Regions from separate parts of the Homo sapiens genome. Here all the other regions are linked to region 3. The links are contacts of gene promoters, found by promoter capture Hi-C in blood cells and fetal thymus (Javierre and others, 2016). All regions are on one chromosome and are shown on one strand. The core of a region is centred on a gene start or on the middle of the fragment in contact, and the rest is flanking DNA. Distances in the headings are between cores, read along the strand shown.

The links. The method cuts DNA at HindIII sites, captures the fragments that hold promoters and counts their contacts. A CHiCAGO score of 5 or more calls a contact.
Region 1: a fragment that was not itself captured here is called in contact with the fragment with the promoter of SMG6 in region 3 in 6 of 17 cell types (M1 macrophages, endothelial precursors, M2 macrophages and 3 more); the score reaches 8.7 in M1 macrophages.
Region 2: a fragment that was not itself captured here is called in contact with the fragment with the promoter of SMG6 in region 3 in 4 of 17 cell types (M1 macrophages, M0 macrophages, endothelial precursors and 1 more); the score reaches 7.4 in M1 macrophages.
Region 4: a contact is called between a fragment that was not itself captured here and the fragment with the promoter of SMG6 in region 3, in 3 of 17 cell types (endothelial precursors, M1 macrophages and M2 macrophages). The highest score is 11.1, in endothelial precursors.

What each region holds. Positions count from the first base shown.
Region 1 is chr17:1,858,892-1,863,297 of GRCh38, forward strand. All of the region lies in intron 5 of RPA1 (replication protein A1), which reads left to right. Among named protein-coding and RNA genes, the nearest start is that of RPA1, 31 kb to the left of the region's middle. The HindIII fragment of the contact is 481 bases long and covers 1,679-2,159 here.
Region 2 is chr17:1,904,589-1,909,118 of GRCh38, forward strand. No RefSeq gene overlaps it. Among named protein-coding and RNA genes, the nearest start is that of RPA1, 77 kb to the left of the region's middle. RefSeq lists enhancers at 2,572-3,080, 3,081-3,588. The HindIII fragment of the contact is 5,203 bases long and covers 228-4,530 here.
Region 3 is chr17:2,301,217-2,305,392 of GRCh38, forward strand. It overlaps SMG6 (SMG6 nonsense mediated mRNA decay factor), which reads right to left and starts at 2,569. Exons shown (of 19, transcript NM_017575.5): 1 at 2,417-2,569. The coding sequence starts at 2,504. It overlaps SRR (serine racemase), which reads left to right and starts at 2,734. Exons shown (of 8, transcript NM_021947.3): 1 at 2,734-2,801. RefSeq lists enhancers at 827-1,641, 1,971-2,697 and silencers at 2,199-2,408, 2,599-2,818. The HindIII fragment of the contact is 10,069 bases long and covers 1-4,176 here.
Region 4 is chr17:1,877,796-1,882,164 of GRCh38, forward strand. It overlaps RPA1 (replication protein A1), which reads left to right. Exons shown (of 17, transcript NM_002945.5): 9 at 1,198-1,266; 10 at 1,420-1,612; 11 at 1,765-1,904; 12 at 2,748-2,896. Among named protein-coding and RNA genes, the nearest start is that of RPA1, 50 kb to the left of the region's middle. The HindIII fragment of the contact is 357 bases long and covers 2,527-2,883 here.

The DNA.
Region 1 (4,406 bases), core at 669-3,168, 440 kb before region 3:
TATTTTTATTTTATTTTTTTTTTTTTTTTGAGACAGAGACTCACTCTTTCACCCAGGCTGGAGTGCAGTGGCATGATCTTGGCTCACTGCAATCTCCACCTCCCAGGTTCAAGCGATTCTCCTATCTCAGCCTCCCAGGTAGCTAGGACTACAGGTGCCTGCCACCATGCCTGGCTAATTTTTGTATTTTTAGTAAAGACAGGGTTTTGCCGTGTTAGCCAGGCTGGTGTCAAACTCCTGACCTCGGATGATCTGCCTGCCTTGGCCTCCCAAAGTGCTGGGATTACAGGAGTGACCCACCTTCCCCAGCCTTGAGTCTTATTTTATGTCCAGATTATGGTCTCTCTTGGTAAATTCTGTGTGTACTTGAAAAGAATGTGTATTCTGTTGTTGGGCAGAGTCTTACAAATGTCAATTAGGTCGAGTCGGTAAATTGTGTTATTCAGTTTTTCTATATCTTTACTGTTTTTCTGTTTACTTGTTCTGTCATTTACTGAGAGGGATATTGAAATCTCTAACTGTAATAATTGTAAGTTTCTCTGTCTCTCTGCAGTTCTATTAGTTTTTGCTTCATGTATTTCAAAGCTGTATTATTAAATATCTATATAATTTAGAATTCTTGTGTCCACTTGATGAGTTGACTCTTATTATTATGAAATGATTTTATCCCTGGGAAATTCTGTGCTTTGAAGTCTGCTTTGATATTAGCATAGCCACTTTGGCGTTTTTTTTGTTTTGTTTTGTTTTTTCTCTCCTAGAGACAACATCTTGCTCTGTTGCCCAGGCTGGAGTACAGTGGTACATTCACGGCTCAGTGCAGCCTCAACACCTTGGGCTCAAGCAATCCTCCCACCTCCGCCTCCTGAGTAGCTGGGACTACAGGCATGTGCCACCACGCCCAGCTAATTTTATTTTGTTTTTTATTTATTTATTTATTTTTGAGACGAAGTCTCACTCTGTTGCCAGGCTGGAGTGCAGTGGCGTGATCTCGGCTCACTGCAACCTCCGCCTCCCAGGTTCAAGCGATTCTCCTGCCTCAGCCTCCTGAGTAGCTAGGGCTACAGGCACGCATCACCATGCTCAGCTGATTTTTGTATTTTTAGTAGAGATAGGGTTTCACCATGTTGGCCAGGATGGTCTCCATCTCTTGACGTCATGATCTGCCCGCCTCAGCCTCCCAAAGTGCTGGGGTTAAAGGCGTGAGCCACCATAATTGGCCTAATTTTATTTTTTGTGGACATGGAGTCCTGCCATGTTGCCCACACTGGTCTTGAATTCCTGGCCTCCAGCAATCCTCCTGCCTCAGCCTCCCAAGTAGTTGGGACTGCAGGCTGCACCTGTAGTCTGGGAGGTGGAGTGCCGGGCCTGCCTGTGGACTGCCTGGACTGGGGCTGGGACGGCAGTGCCACCACGCCCGGCTCATTTCTTTTCTTTTTATTTGTAGGGGCGGGGTCTCACTTTGTTGCCCAGGCTGGTCTCAAACTCCTGGCCTCAATCCTCCTGCCTTAGCCTCTCAAAAGGCTGAATTACAGGCATAAGCTACTGTGCCTGGCCATTGTGTATACTTTCTATTGCTAGCCGTTCAAGTTCACTAATGGTTTCTCAGGCAGTGCCTAATCTGCTGTTAATCCCATTGAGTGTATTTTTCTTCTCAGATAGTATAGTTTTTATCCCTAGAAGCTTGATTTTGGGTCTTTAAAAACTCATCTACATCTCTGCTTAATTTTTGGGACATACAGAGCACAATGACAGTATTTGTTGTAAGGTCCTTGTCTGTGGATTCTGGTGTCTGTGTTAGGTCCGGATTTGTTTCCGTCAGTTGATCCCGGCCTCTCCGATCATGGATCATATTTTCCTGCTGCTTTTCATGCCTGGCCCTCGGACCGAATGCCAGACATTGGGATTCGTACCTCGTTGGGTGCTAGAAACTTTTGTAATCCTGTAATTATTCTTGAGCTTTTTTCAGGGATACAGTTAACTTGGAGACAGTTTGATCTTTTGGTGTGTTGCTTTTAAGATTTATTAGAGAATCAGAGAGCTGCATTTAGTCTAGGTGTAGTTATTCCCAATACTGAATCGAGACCTGACAGACTGTTCTACCTCGTGCCCCATGAATATGAATTTTTCCCATCTGACTGGTAGAAACAGGTACTATTTCAAGCTTGCTGTAAACACAGGCATGGTTCCCTCTGGCCTTCTCAGATGATTCTCACCCTGGCCTCAGATCGTGTCCACACACACACACGGGCCAACCAGGACTCTGCTGACTACCCAGGAAACCTGCCACCCATTTCTGGAGTTCTCTGTGTACAGCCCTCTCTTCTCTGCTACTCTGTCCGGCCAGCTAGACGGCGATCTCCCCAGACTCTCGGCCCCCATTTCTGCACCTCGGGTTCTGGCAGGCCCCCTAAGCCCTTGAGGCACTGAGCTGGTGCAGACCCACTCGCTCGCTTTCCTGTGCACAGCAGGCGCTACCCCTCATTGAAAACCATGCGTCTCACGTATTTTCTCCCTTTCTGGTGGGGGGAGGGGGTTATGTTAGGTGTTAGGGTGAACCTGGTCTCTGTTGCTCCATTTGTCCGGTACGTAGTTTTAAAAGTTGAATATTTTTGCGAGGTGTGTCCTTAAAAACAAAACAGCATTCTCCTGCCTCACTTTTCTTTGGCCTCTGACTCCTGTCTAGAGACAGTCTGTTTCAAATCTCACAGCTGTTTCTTCTCTGTTTGTCTCCATATTTCTAAATAACACATTTGTGCTGCTCTTCGTTAATTTTTTCAGTTGAAACATTTGTTTATTAACTTCACGCTATGGGAGATTAGAATGTGGTGCTCTCTCTTTTTTTTTTTTCTTTTTTAAGAGTCTCACACTGTCACCCAGGCTGGAGTCCAGTGGCGTGATCTTGGCTCACTGCAACCTCCGCCTCCTGGACTCAAGCAATCCTCCTTGCCTCAGCCTCCTCAGTAGCTGGGATTACAGGCGTGCACCACTGCACCCTGCTAATTTTTGTTTTTATTTTTTTATTTTTTGAGACGGAGTCTCACTGTGTCGCCCAGGCTGGAGTGCAGTGGCGCGGTCTCGGTTGACTGCAAGCTCCACCTCCCGGATTCACGCCATTCTCCTGCTTGAGTAGCTGGGACTACAGGCACCCACCACCATGCCCGGGTGATTTTTTTTGTATTTTCAGTAGAGACGGGGTTTCACTGTGTTAGCCAGGATGGTCTCCATCTCCTGACCTCGTGATCTGCCCGCCTCAGCCTCCCAAAGTGCTGGGATTACAGGCGTGAGCCACCGCCCCCAACCGTATTTTTTTTTTTTTTTTTTTTTTTTTGTAGCGATGGAGTCTATGTTGTCCAGGCTGGTCTTGAACTCCTGGGCTCAAGCAATCCGCCCACCTGAGCCTCCCAAAGTGCCAGGATTACAGGTGTGAGCCACAGCGCCCAGCTTAGAATGTAGCTCTCTTATACCTCTCTTGTCCCTGCTGTCCACATGGAAGAAGTAGATGTTAATATCGATTAGCTCAATATTTATTTATTTATTTATTTATTTGAGATGGAGTCTCACTTTGTTGCCCAGGCTGGAGTGCAGTTGCATGATCTTGGCTCACTGCAACCTCCACCTCCCAGTTCAAGCTATCCTCATGCCTCAGCCTCACCAGTAGCTGGGATTACAGGCACACACCACCATGCCCAGCTAATTTTTGTATTTTTAGTAGAGATGGGGTTTCACCATGTTGGCCAGGTTGGTCTCGATCCCCTGACCTCAAGTGATCCGCCCACCTTGACCTCCTAAAGTGCTAAGATTATTGGCGTGAGTCACTGTGCCCAGCTTTTTTTTTTTTTTTTTTTTTTGAGATGAAGTTTTGCTTTGTTGCCCAGGCTGGAGTGCACTGGAACGATCTCCGCTCACTGCAACCTCCCCCGGGTTCAAGTGATTCTCCTGCCTCAGGCTCCCAAGTAGCTGGGATTACAAGTGCCCGCCACCACGCCCAGCTAATTTTTGTATTTTTAGTAGAGACGAAGTTTCACCATGTTGGCCAGGCTAGTCTCGAACTGCTGACCTCAGGTGATCTGCCTGCCTCAGCCTCCCAAAGTGTTGGGATTACAGGCGTGAGCCACCGTGCCCGGCCAAGATTTATTTATTTAGTTATTTGGAGACAGGTTCTTGCTTTGCCATCCAGGCTGGAGTGCAGTGGCTCAAAAAGGGCTTACTGTAGCCTCAACCTCCCAGGCTCAAGTGATCTTCCCACCTCAGCTTTCCCAGTAGCTGGGAGCGTGAACCACCACGCCCAACTAATTTATTTTATTTTATTTTATTTTATTTTATTTTATTTTATTTTTTTGAGACGAGTCTCACTCTGTCACCCAGGCTGGAGTGCAATGGCACAATCTCGGCTCACTGCAACCTCC
Region 2 (4,530 bases), core at 1,579-4,078, 400 kb before region 3:
AATGGAGTTAGAACAGGCAGGACTTTTTAAAAATAAGCCCCAGTTGGACTCTCATCTCCTCTCACCGTTGACACTGCTGTTCATGTTGAAGTTTATTTATATCTTCAGTCAGCCATGGTACAGAGGTCATTTCCATTGGCCTAAAATTTTAGAGGCTTATATGTTTGCCTGGGAAAGCTGATCTCCTCAGCACTTAGGCTTGTAATGCAAAGCCTGTCTCTTGCAGAAGCTTTTCTGCTTCCATAACACGGCGACTCCCACCGTCACCACCACCACCAATTTCCTGCTCCACGATTTATTCAAAATCTGAATAGCTGTATAAGGTGCATCCCTGCAAATGAGCTCTCCTCCTCTAATGGGCTCTTTCCAGGCAGCAAACCTTTCACAAAGGAGCCACTAATTAAGCAAAAAACAGTTTGTCTTGCTTAGCCACGTTTCAGGAGTCCAGCAGTCAGTTTAGAAGACGGCAACATCCTTTACAGCCGTGATGGTAATAATATTCTTTTGTCTCATACCAGGGTCTCTAACTGGCAATTTGGGTGTCTGGGTGTGCGTGTGTCCCTGTTCTGTCTTGCTCTCCATCTTGAAGAGGAAAATTTGTTTCCGTGGACTTTTATTTTTTTGGAAATCCTTGTTAAAGTTACTCTGTAAGGATCAAACCCACACCAAGCCTTCCTGGTTGGAAAGAGGCGCTGCCTGAGTGTCGATTTGCAGTGGGGGCACGCGCAGGCTCTCCGGGAAAACGCCTGTCAGTCAAAGCGGCTCTCTCGTGAGAGCGTCTGACTGCTCGGTTCCCTTCCATCTCCGTCTGCTGGAGAATTGAAGGTGTTAGCAGGTTCACCGGGCAGCAACGCTCAGACCGATGTGCAGGCCACCGCCGCATGCTGCACGTGCCTCCTAATAGAACCTTGAGCTCCCGCAGCCAAGCCTCATTTTGTGTGTGTGTTATTAAAGTGCCGGTGACTAGGAAAAGCAGAGCCCTCTTAATTAGAGAGCGACATCCTTGCATAGTGGTAGTGTTCCGTTTGTGGCATAATTGTCACAGCAAATTACCAGTTAGGTTAAATATTGGGCTGGTAGTTCTCAGCGCTTCCATTCTTGGCTCCACCCCGCCCTCCCCACCCTCTCCTACCCTCACCATCACCTGCTAGCCTGCACTTTTAACTTGATCTTCTGCCAAGTGATAGCTTTTAAGTGAGGCTTAGAGCAGATACACTTTACAGCAGGAGCAATAAATCTAGCTTTGGGCAAGTTACAGGATGCCAGGAACATCTGAATGAGGGGGGCAATTTTTGCTGTGTGTATGGGGGTGTGCTGGGTCGTCTCGTGGGGCTCAGCTATAAAACTGGGTCCTCCGTATATCTGACATGGTGTCTGTCCCGTGAGAAGATACTTGAGGTGACACAAGAAATGTGAAGGAAATAGAAGACCTGGTCCCTTCTCATTATCCGTCCATGGCGGGGGGGGAGCCTCACAAAATGGAAGAGCACTTTCTATAAGCAAAACCAGAGTGACACAGAGGATGCTGAGTACGTGGTGTGTGAAGGGAGTCCAGTGAAGGAGAGCGGACAGTCTGGTGGAGGCAGACAAAAAACCTATGAGTTGTCATCGTGAAGTTGCAAAAAAGGGATTGGCTGGCCGGGCGCAGTAGCTCACGCCTGTAATCCCAGCACTTTGGGAGGCCGAGGTGGGTGGATCACCTGAGGTCGGGAGTACAAGACCAGCCTGACCAACATGGAGAAACCCCGTCTCTGCTAAAAATACAAAATTAGCCGGGGTGGTGGTGCATGCCTGTAATCCCAGCTACTCGGGAGGCTGAGGCAGGAGAATCGCTTGAACCCAGGAGACGGAGGTTGCAGTGAGCCGAGATCGCGCCATTGCACTCCAGCCTGGGCAACAAGAGCGAAACTCCGTCTCAAAAAAAAAAAAAAAAAAAAAGGATCGGCTGGAAGAAAAGTCCATTTCAAACTGAAGGACTGGCACGTTGCTCAGGAGCCAGTAAACCAGGTGCAGGTGATACCAAGAAAATTAGCTTGGTTTGAGTGGTGAGTCTTTGTAGAAAAATAAATGAGATTGCTGCACACTGGGAGGGCGGCCTGGATCTTCATTTCCTTGGAGCTTAAGACTTAAGCCCTGTGGAATGTAAGTCCTAGGAGTGTCCTTTGTCACTAATTGATCTTTCAGCTGCTCATAGAGCTGGCATTCTTGCAGGCCAGGTACACGAGAAGATAGAGCCGGAGCAGCCTGCCTCCGCTTAGCCAACTGCATAGCTGAGGAAATCCTGCCGGGCATGTTATTGGAGGGTTGTGCACTCTATTCCTCACGAGCTTCGTGCTGGGATGCTCATTTTCTCTGGACAAAGATAGACTGGCTCCCTCTCTTGTTGATGGAATGGAAATTCTCTCTTGCATTATGGTTTCTGTGATAACTTTGGTGGCGGTGGTGTGGGGATAATGAAGAGTCTCTTAATGGCTCTAGTTAAACCTGGTAATATCACTCTATCACACTGGAGCCGGCCGTGGGAATCTAACCCACTTTTGTATTCCTAAACGCCTAAAACCTGCCACTGGCATCTTCGCATAATAAGGAACCAGTCATCGCTCGTCTGTGTCCTGGAACATATTTATAAGCCTATGTTAATTTCTGGACTCCGGAATGGCGCCTCTTCCAATCCCAGCCCTCGGTCAGTCTCTCCGGATAGACTTGGGAAGTCAGGTCGTTTCAGCCACACATCACCATTCTCCGTCCCTGAGCCCGGCATGCTGGTTTAGTGCCCCCAAAGGAAGAGAACTCATTTTATTCTGGAAATTGGGAAAGTGAATTTGCTTCAGGACCTGCCTAGGTCTAATTAGTCCAGTCCGTAAGCAGGCCTGGCTCCGTGTCTGAGGCATGCGTGCACGTGGATGGTGTGTGTGCACACGTGTGTGTGGCATGTGCACGTGTGTGCCCTGGCAGCCACTATAACGTGCCCGGCAGTGGCCGCTGTTCGCCCAGGTTGGCCCAGTTCAGTCCTGCTTCTCAGGGTGGCTGGTAGATGTGGCCACCTTACAACCCCCAAAAGCCTTCCATGTGCACCCCCAACCCCCAAAAGCCTTCCATGCGCACCCCCAAATGGAGAAGGGGCCGGGTGGGGTGTCATTAGGAGATGGGGGCCACGTGCCAAGACAGAGGAAGGGGAAATGGGGAGAAAACAACAAGAAAAGGAATAGGTGGGGAGAGAGGTCATTTTAACCTAAATTAAATAATGGAAATGACCATTATGAACACAACGAGGGCAGGGATTCCGTAGCCAGAGCTGCGAGACCGTGACAAATGGCTCTCCAGGGAAACGGGGTGCAGCCTCCTCTCCTGGAAGTCAGGAAAGGGGTCTCTCCACCAACCAGGGGCGGGAGGCAGAGCCTGCGCTGCCGGATTTAGCCTGGAAGTTAAAATCGCTGAAGCAGTTTATAGAAACAGCAGAGTGAGCCGCCGCGCACAATCAGTAGGCAGGATCCAGAGACGATGGCATAAATGTTTCAAATGTGCTCAGGGTAATTAGTTTTGAATTACCATGTGCATATTTTAAACATTTAAATGATCATCCCAGGTTTTCGAAAACAGTTGCACGCGGCTTGATGTCACCTCCCCTCCCGGGCGGCCTCCCCAAGGGGACACAGCCAGGTGGGGCCTGCGGGTCCCGCGACCTCAGCCGGGGAGGGGCGCGCGCTAAGCCCGGGGATCAGCGCGGATTAGGCCGCAGCCCCGAGTCCTGGAGCAGCCGCTCGCCCGGGACTTCCCGTCCTCCAAGCCTGCGTCGGCTGTGCCAGGTTTTCAAGACGATCTGCTCAGCGTTTAGGTTTCCCATTGTGCATGAAAATGCAATTCCACGCGGGCAGTTTTTCTCCCCCGTTTGATTTCCTGGAGACCCGGGTGGCTGGGAAACTTGAAAGGTGACTGGCCAGGTGGGAACCGCGTTTGGTGTTTGAAGCCAGCCACCTTGTCCGCCAGTCTCTCGAGGCGACCTGCCTTGCAGCAACTCCATTCTCCCTGGGGTTCGACTCAGAATGCAAACGACGATTTCCAAATTCCCTAATTCCGGAGGCGCTGGGAGGGGCGAAGGTGTCAGGCCTGGACCCCCACCCCCCGCCCGCGCCTTCCCTGCCGGCTGCAGGGGCGGATCCAGGCTGCGCCCTGGGGTGTCTCACAGAGGCCCTGTCGGCGGGGCGCGGCGGGTCGGGGTGTCTAAAGTCAGATCCCTAACTTCAGACACCCGAATTTAGCATCGTGGCTTAGAAACGCTGCCCTGTGTCCCCTTCCTCCCGGTTACAAGCTGTTTCTCCAGCAGGTGGAGCTGGGAGAATAAAAACTATGAGCCTGTGCCTGGGACCTTGCAGAGGGAGCTATCTGTGCTGAAATCCTGGTTGAATGAAAATTGTTCATTATGCAAACTGTCTGGTTCAGTACACAGAGGCAGCCCCCAGGCGCAAACCCCAAGTAGCTGCTTCTTCTCTCCCCAGATTAAAACATATGAACTGCTTTGATGTAATCTTA
Region 3 (4,176 bases), core at 1,319-3,818:
TAGTCTTTAAACTTGACCAGGATGATTCTCTTCTTCAAGATACCAATTACCAAATAACATACCTGCTGGTGAATTAAACAGCAAGCAGTTCTTTTCCCATTCTTCAACTTCACCCATCCTCACCAACTCACTAACAGTAGCTCACAGAGTTACCAAAATACTGCTCAGACTATCATACTAGAATACTGACACTAACTGCTACTGTGATGATGGAATTATTAGAAAAAAGTTCCATAAGGGAACTTTCCCTGGATGCTGATGGAAAGATTGTGACATACTCTCAAAATGCCAACAACTGGGAACTCAAGAATTAAGAATAATACAGGACTTTAGAAACCACTCTCGGCCGGGCGCGGTGGGTCACGCCTGTAATCCCAGCACTTTGGGAGGCCGTGGTGGGTGGATCACGAGGTCAGGAGATCGAGACCATCCTGGCTAACACGGTGAAACCCCGTCTCAACAAAAAATACAAAAAATTAGCCGGGCGTGGTGGTGGGCGCCTGTAGTCCCAGCTACTCGGGAAGCTGAGGCAGGAGAATAGCGTGAACCCAGGAGGCGGAGCTTGCAGTACGCGGAGATCGCGCCAGTGCACTCCAGCCCAGCGGACAGATACTTACTTAAGTATCTGGTTTTTTAAAAAAGTATCTGTTACCGTTATCAAAAGTAACCACTAAACATTACAATGGAAAAGTGACAGAATTCGGGAGAATATTATCAAGTACACAAATGGAATGCTATATAAAATCCTAGCATAGGCCAGGTGCAGTAGCTCACGCCTATAATCCCAGCACTTTGGGAGGCTGAGGCGGGAGGACTGCTTGAGGCCAGGAGTTCGAGATCAGCCTGGGCAACATGGCAACACCCTGTCTCTATAACGTATACAAAAAATAGCCAGGTGTGGTGGTGCAGGTCTGTAATTCCAGCTACTCGGAAGGCTGAGGTGGGAGGATCACTTGAGCACAGGAGGGGGAGGCTACAGTGAGCTGAGATCCCTCCACTGCACTCCAGCCTGGAAGACAGAGTGAGACCCTGCCTCAAAAAAATTGGCCGGGCACGGTGGCTCACGCCTGTAATCCCAGCACTTTGGGAGGCCAAGGCGGGCGGATCACGAGGACAGGAGTCCAGACCATCCTGGCCAACACGGAGAAACCCCGTCACTACAAAAATACAAAAAATTAGCCAGGCGTGGTGGCACACGCCTACAGTCCAAGCTACTGGGGAGGCTGAGGTAGGAGAATGGCGTGAACCCGGGAGGCGGAGGTTGCAGTGAGCAGAGATCGCGCCACTGCACTCCAGCCTGGGCGACAGAGCTAGACTCCGTCTCAAAAAATAATAATAACAACAATAAAAAAGTTTTTAATCCTAGTATTGCTCTCTAAATATAAATGGAAACAAGCCCAAAACAGGAATCATATGCTCCAGCAAGTACATTTACTGTTTGTAGGTGTAAGGAAAAGGGGAAGAAAAGAGACTGAGGTTTTGGATAGTGCTTCACTATTTTCATAAGTTTAAAAGGTAGGTTCATGAAGTATCCACAAAGATAAAGCAGTTTAACCCAAGAATAGCTCACCCTCGGCAGTCTGTAACTTGGTGGGGGGCGGGGGGATGGGGAAAGCTATTCCTACTACTTTCTAGAGCAGCGGGAGAAAATAGCCTTAATAATCCAATTATGTTAATCAACAAAAACCAATTTCACAGACTGGCCGCAAACCTAGAGAAGGCACCTATCACAGCTACCATTCTACACAACTCTATTGCCTAACGCAGGAGAGGTGAGACACTTAGAATCTTTCTTACTTTCCTGACGTGGCTGGAGACTTGAAATTAACTTGCAAATTGAGCATTCTCTCTAATAAAAACTGCTCCCACACATGCCAGGGCCAAACCCGAGTAGTCTGAGGTCCCGGATCCCTCCAGTGGCGCAGCTTTCGGAAGCCTGTCTTGGGGGGGAAAAGTTCAGCAACGAAGTCGCAGGCTCTTAAACCTTTCTCCCCAATTCCTTCTCTCCGACGTTAAAGCGGTGGCCGGGGCAGGCCCGCGGAGGGCGGCCTGGAGAGCGATACGCCCGGGGCCTCCACCAGACCCCACTCCTTTCCGCGTCTCCCGATGCCTGGGAATCCGGGGCGGGTCTGAGAGGGCTGGGGCAAAAGGAACAGTCACCTTCGCGGCGAGAAAGAGGGTGGAGGCAGGAATTCGGGCCAGGCTCTCCCGGAGCTGGCCAGGACTGGCCGAGCCCGACCCCGCACTAACCCGCGAGAGAGGTAGGGCAGCGAGGGTCCGCCGCGGCCCCAGCGCCTACTGCTGGGGGAAGGGGCGGGGGCTCCGGAGCCGAGGGCCGAGCGGGGAGGAGGCAGAGGAGGAGGAGAGGGAGGCGGGGCGGGCAGGCCCGGCCCAGGAGCTGGGCGGCGCGACTCACCTCTGCTCCCGGCCTGCGGGGCCAGAGTAGCCAGGATCCCGCGCAGCTCCGACGCGGAGATCCGCACACGCTCCAGCCCTTCCGCCATCTTCGCGGCTGCTGCTACAGCCGTAGCGGCTCCGCCACCGCCGCGCGCAGCCAGGAAACCACCACAGACGGGCGGCGCGCGCGCTCGCCCACCTCCCGGCCTTTCCCCGCCCCCTGCCGCCCTCCCTTTCCGAACGACGGTGGCCGCGCTGGGAGGAAAAGCGCCCGCCGCCGGTTCCAGAGGGGCGGGACCGGAGCGAGAGCCTGGGTGGGGCGGGCGGGCGCTGCGCGTGCGCAGAGGTGCGGCCGGGGAGGCGCGCGGAGGCTGGAGCTGGAGGCGCGGCGCCGGTGAGCTGAGGTGAGGCGAGGCCGGGCCGTGCCAGGCCAGGCGGGCGTTTGCGGCGGTGGCTGCCGTTGCTGTTGTCGTGGACACCAAGGACACTGCTAGTCTGGGACTCGGGTTGACAGAGACACCCCTCAGCCTGGGCTCCTCTGGACACCTTAGGCCAGGCTCTCCCGCCACAGGCCCGGCCTAGCGCCGCGGGCCATTACTTGGGACCTTGAAGATCTGCTAAGAGTAGTTGTTACTATTCCCTTTTTTTTTTAGTTGGAGTCTCGCTCTGTTGGAGACTCCCGGGCTGGAGTGCAGTGGCGCGGTCTCGGCTCACTGCAACCTCTGCCTCCTGGATTCAAGCGATTCTCCTGCCTCAGCCTCCCTAGTAGCTGGGATTACAGGTGCACGCCACCAAGCCCGGCTAATTTTTGTATTTTTTGTAGAGACGGGGTTTCACTAGGCTGGTCTCGAACTCCTGACCTCAGGTGATCCACCCGCGTCGGCCTCCCAAAGTGCTGGGATTACAGGCGTGAGCCACCGCGCCCGGCCGCCCCCTGACTTTTAAAAACTAGATACGATATAGTTGGAATCGTGTGGAAGGAAGTACATCAGGAGGCATATAAGTCCATTTGGGACCTGTAATCCCGGCGACTCGGAACGCTGAGACGGGCGGATCGCTTGAACCCGGGAGGCGGAGACTGCAGTGAGCCGAGATCGCGCCACTGCACTCCAGCCCGGGAGTCTCCAACAGAGCGAGACTCCGCCTCAAAAAAAAAAAAAAGTCAATTTGGGAATTTCTGTGTCACTATGGATTCTTGAAAAAAATTACTGCTGTGGATCTCAGGTTGACTTTTTAATTTCCCATCTTTAAAATTGAACTATACCAGAAGGCTGGTACTTGAATCTTTTTTTGGAGAACTGTACAGAGGTGAAGCTCCCTTCCCCAAGGCCTCCTGCCTCCACCTGTTGCCCCTCCACAGCCCCATAGGCTTTTACCCCACACCCATCACAGAATAGTTACCAATTATTCCTTAGTCTGAGCCGAAGGGATTGCCACAACCTCTGACAGAACTCCTTCAGTTCCTTTTACGTGACACTTTGTCACCGGAAGGTTAAGCATAAGAAGAAAGTCAGTAGATGATGGGTGAAAAGATCCAACAGTTCAGAAGAGGAACCATTTGAGTGGTCAGAGCAGAAGACAGCCTTTGCCACCAGATTTGAGAGAAATAGGAAGAAGCGTTAAAAAATAATCTGTTTCATATTGAAATTTGAGAGGCCATTGCATGATTTCTTTTTTCAGCTGGAAAAATAATGGAAAACAAGAAAACTTTCTTAGGACAAATGGCACCACCCATTTAATGCAACAGTGTCAGTGAACTGCAGATTAGATATGCCAAAA
Region 4 (4,369 bases), core at 1,455-3,954, 420 kb before region 3:
GTGGGAAATGGGTTCTGACTGTGCAGATTCTCTATTTGCTTTATTTAAACTAAACAAAACCATGACGATGAGACAAAATTCCTATGCCATGGAAGTACGACAGTCTTGATAGCTGTTAATCAGTCCATTCGTTTTGCTAATAATTCCTGAAATTGCCGGGTGTGGTGGCTCACGCCTGTAATCCCAACACTTTGGGAGGCCAGGGTGCACAGATCACTTGAGGTCAGGAGTTCGAGACCAGCCTGGCCAACATAGTGAAACCCCGTTTATACTAAAAATACAAAAATTAGCTGGGTATGGTGGCAGGTGCCTGTAGTCCCAGCTACTTGGGAGGCTGAGGCAGGAGAATCAATCGCCTGAACCAAGGAGGTGGAGGTTGGAGCCAGCCAAGATTGCACCACTGCACTCCAGCCTGGGCGACAGAGTGAGACTCCATCTCAAAAATAATAATAATTCCTAAAATGTACTTCAGCATTCTTTTCAAAGTGCTGCAGATTTCCTGTTTGTTCAGACTCCCAAATAGGGAGAAAAAAATAGATGTTTTTTTTGGAAGTTGATATAACACCCAAAATGTTTGTGTGATGGCAGAATCAATATTAGAACCTAATTTTTTTTTAGAAATTATTGCTCTAATGTATGGTGGTTGGCTAAAATTTCTTGTCCACTTGTAAATTTTGGCTGACAGAAAAGCAAAAGTGAAAATCAGATCACAAGCAACTTGCAAACATGACTTACTCTGACATTTTTGGCAATGGCTCCGAATGTGAAGTGGTTTGTCACTGAGAGGGCACTGTGGAGGGAGCCGGTGAATCACCCCGTGGCAGCACCTTCCTCGTGGGCTCTGGGCGTGTCCCTCAGTATTCAACTTTTTTTGTTTTTATTGTCAGAATAAATTAAACTCGTCATTGCCGTTTTGTTCTGTTCTGTTTCTCAGTTGAGGCTAATGCAGCATGATTATGGGATCGGCTAGCTGAAATTCTCATTCTTCAGCGGGGCCAGTGACTTCAGTGTGTGACTGTAAAATGCGGGTTCCTGGGATGTCCGTAGCCCTCTCTGGACCCTGTTTGTGCAAGGGCCACTGCTCTCAAGATGTCACTTTGGTGCTAGGGTGGCCTGTGTTCTATCCCAGTGTCACTTGGGTGCTGGGGTGGCCTGTGTTCAATCCCGCAGCCCTAACCTGCCCACGTGCTTCTGCAGGGTGAAATCCGAGCTACAGCTTTCAATGAGCAAGTGGACAAGTTCTTTCCTCTTATTGAAGTGAACAAGGTATGGCCGTGCTGACTTTAGAACTGACACCGCCTGGGGGTGGAGTGCGGATGAAAAGACGCTGGCCCAGGGGAGGGGTGTGTGGTGGCAGACTAGGGGTTTCTGTCCGATTTGATGGTAGTCTCAGGTTCTGTGGCTTGGCCTCCTTCGCAGGTGTATTATTTCTCGAAAGGCACCCTGAAGATTGCTAACAAGCAGTTCACAGCTGTTAAAAATGACTACGAGATGACCTTCAATAACGAGACTTCCGTCATGCCCTGTGAGGACGACCATCATTTACCTACGGTTCAGTTTGATTTCACGGGGATTGATGACCTCGAGAACAAGTCGAAAGACTCACTTGTAGGTAAGCTCGTGTATGAGAAGGAAGAGCAGGGATGACTAGCTTTCTTTGCAGTGTACGGGGTGGTGTCAGGCTTCAGTGCTTGCCGTTCATCATTTGCTGGCGTCGGAATGGGAGTCTTGACCACCTCCTGCTAACACGTGCATGTGTTTTAGACATCATCGGGATCTGCAAGAGCTATGAAGACGCCACTAAAATCACAGTGAGGTCTAACAACAGAGAAGTTGCCAAGAGGAATATCTACTTGATGGACACATCCGGGAAGGTGGTGACTGCTACACTGTGGGGGGAAGATGTAAGTGCTGGGATGGGGTCTTCAACACGCACAGGACCTCCTGGGGTTGGGGCGTGGTCTTGTCCTATAGGATGGGGCCTTCAGCACACACAGGAGGAGCTCCTGGAGTTGGGGGAGGGAGTGGTCTTATCCTATAGGATGGGGCCTTCAGCACACACAGGAGGAGCTCCAGGAGTTGGCGGAGGGGGCATCTTGTCCTATAGGATGGGGCCTTCAGCACACACAGGAGGAGCTCCTGGAGTTGAGGGAGGGAGGGGTCTTGTCCTATAGGATGGGGCCTTCAGCACACACAGGAGGAGCTCCTGGAGCTGGCGGAGGGGGCGTCTGTTCCTATAGGATGGGGCCTTCAGCACACACAGGAGGAGCTCCTGGGGTTGGGGGAGGGAGGGGTCTTGTCCTATAGGATGGGGCCTTCAGCACACACAGGAGGAGCTCCTGGGGTTGGCGGAGGGGGCGTCTTGTCCTATAGGATGGGGCTGTTAGCACACACAGGAGGAGCTCCTCGTGGGGGCGGTTTTGTCCTATGAGTTGGGGGCTTTCACCATGTAGATGGGAAGGATTGTGCTGTCTGGTAAGTATTTAAAATCCTTTATCTTACTTCTGTGAGATTTGCTGTGATTCAAGCTTTACGCGGGGAAATGCTCTTTCCCCTAACTCTAGGAAAGCAGTGATAGTTTTGATGTGTCTCTGAGTAGATTCTCATGTGTGAGGTCTGTCTTGTATGGATTCCATGTACGCTGATTACATTCACTCTACTATTGAATGTTTGCCTTGTTTTCTATAAAAATCTTCTGTGTTCTTCCTGCTAGTGACACTTGTATATGTCTGGTGTTTCTTTTACAGGCTGATAAATTTGATGGTTCTAGACAGCCCGTGTTGGCTATCAAAGGAGCCCGAGTCTCTGATTTCGGTGGACGGAGCCTCTCCGTGCTGTCTTCAAGCACTATCATTGCGAATCCTGACATCCCAGAGGCCTATAAGCTTCGTGGATGGTAGGTTTTGTGGGGCTAAACAAAGGGTTACTTGAGGCTGGGCTTTGAGAAAAGCTGGTTACAATCAGCATGGGAGCTTTCTGCCAAGCAGAAGCCTTCGTCCCTGAGTGGTGCAGCTTCCGTGTTTCTTGAAGGCATTATGCCTTCTGTGAGGAGGGCTTTAAAGCCCTTAAACGGACAAACCTGTAATCCCAGGACAAACCTAGAGAGTCGGAGGAGGCAATTAGCATGTAAGTGCTGCCTGCTGACCTCGATCCTGCCAAAGGAGGGGACGGCCAGGCTTCAGCAGCGGTGTGCTGAAGGCGCCTTTCTTTCCAGGGTTTAGGCTCTGGGCCTCTGTGGCGTGGGGGAACACATGCTTTCTTTCTCTGTCAAGTCTTTGGTGCCGATCACATCTTCTAGTGTGTATTCACTAGACTCTGATCAAGTGTGGTGAGAACAATGGGCTTTTTGTTAGGATTAGATTGTTATTCCCAAAGCACTCAAGGGATGAGGAGAGCCTGTTAAAATCTCCTCACTGTATCTAGCTTTTTAGGACATTCAAACTCTGTCTTAAAAGAGTACTTCAAACTGAGACACAGGATGCAAGAATTGATGTGGTCAGGGAAAACACTTTCACCCAAGCTTCAATAATTCCCATAGCTGTAGTCTATGGGGGGGAAGTGTGTCAGTTTCCAGCTGTGTCTTAGGATTTAAGCAGCTAAAGAATGAGCTCATTTTACATACTCCTCCTTTGTTTTGAGTCATTTAAACCAATGGCACTGGTGTTTGACCAGTTTCATGAAGCATCTTCTGGAATGTTCATGTCACTGAGCCATCCTCATGAGTAGTACGGTCCACACGTATCTGCCGAACTGCAGGGCCCGTTCATAGTCTGACCAGAACTAGCCACAGATTTGCTTTTTTCTTATTGCTTGATTTTCTTTTAGGCTCTGGAGTTCGACTCCAGGTTAATTGCATTCCCACATTAAAATCGCATTCCCACATTAAAATTGCATTCCCACATTAATGTCTTCATCTTTTACTTGTCAATAATCATGATCCCAGTCAACATAAAAAGCACGGCTGTCCCCAGAATAAAATAACTTGGCATTGATCAAAGACAAGCTCAGTGCATACATGATACCTGGACAAGGATTAGAGATGTTTAGATCTTGGCTATAACAATGCAGAGTTTTTATTGTAAGAAGGGCCGCCTTGACTCCTGACGAGTGATCTTTGGTGGCAAATGTCTCCTTGGAGCTTTTGAAACCGTGAACTTGTGTAGCTAGTAGTGGTGAAACAGATGGATGGGCCTTGCTGTGCCCCTGTGAGGGATTTAGCCGCTTACCTGACAGGAGAAGGCAGCTGTCTGCAGCTCAGGGTAACATCCATTCTGTTAGATGGTCTCTGTTTAAGGAACCTGTTCTTTGTGTGGTTACCCACCTTGGGATGGTATTTGGCCTTTCATCTCCGGCCAGCTCCTCTCCGCCA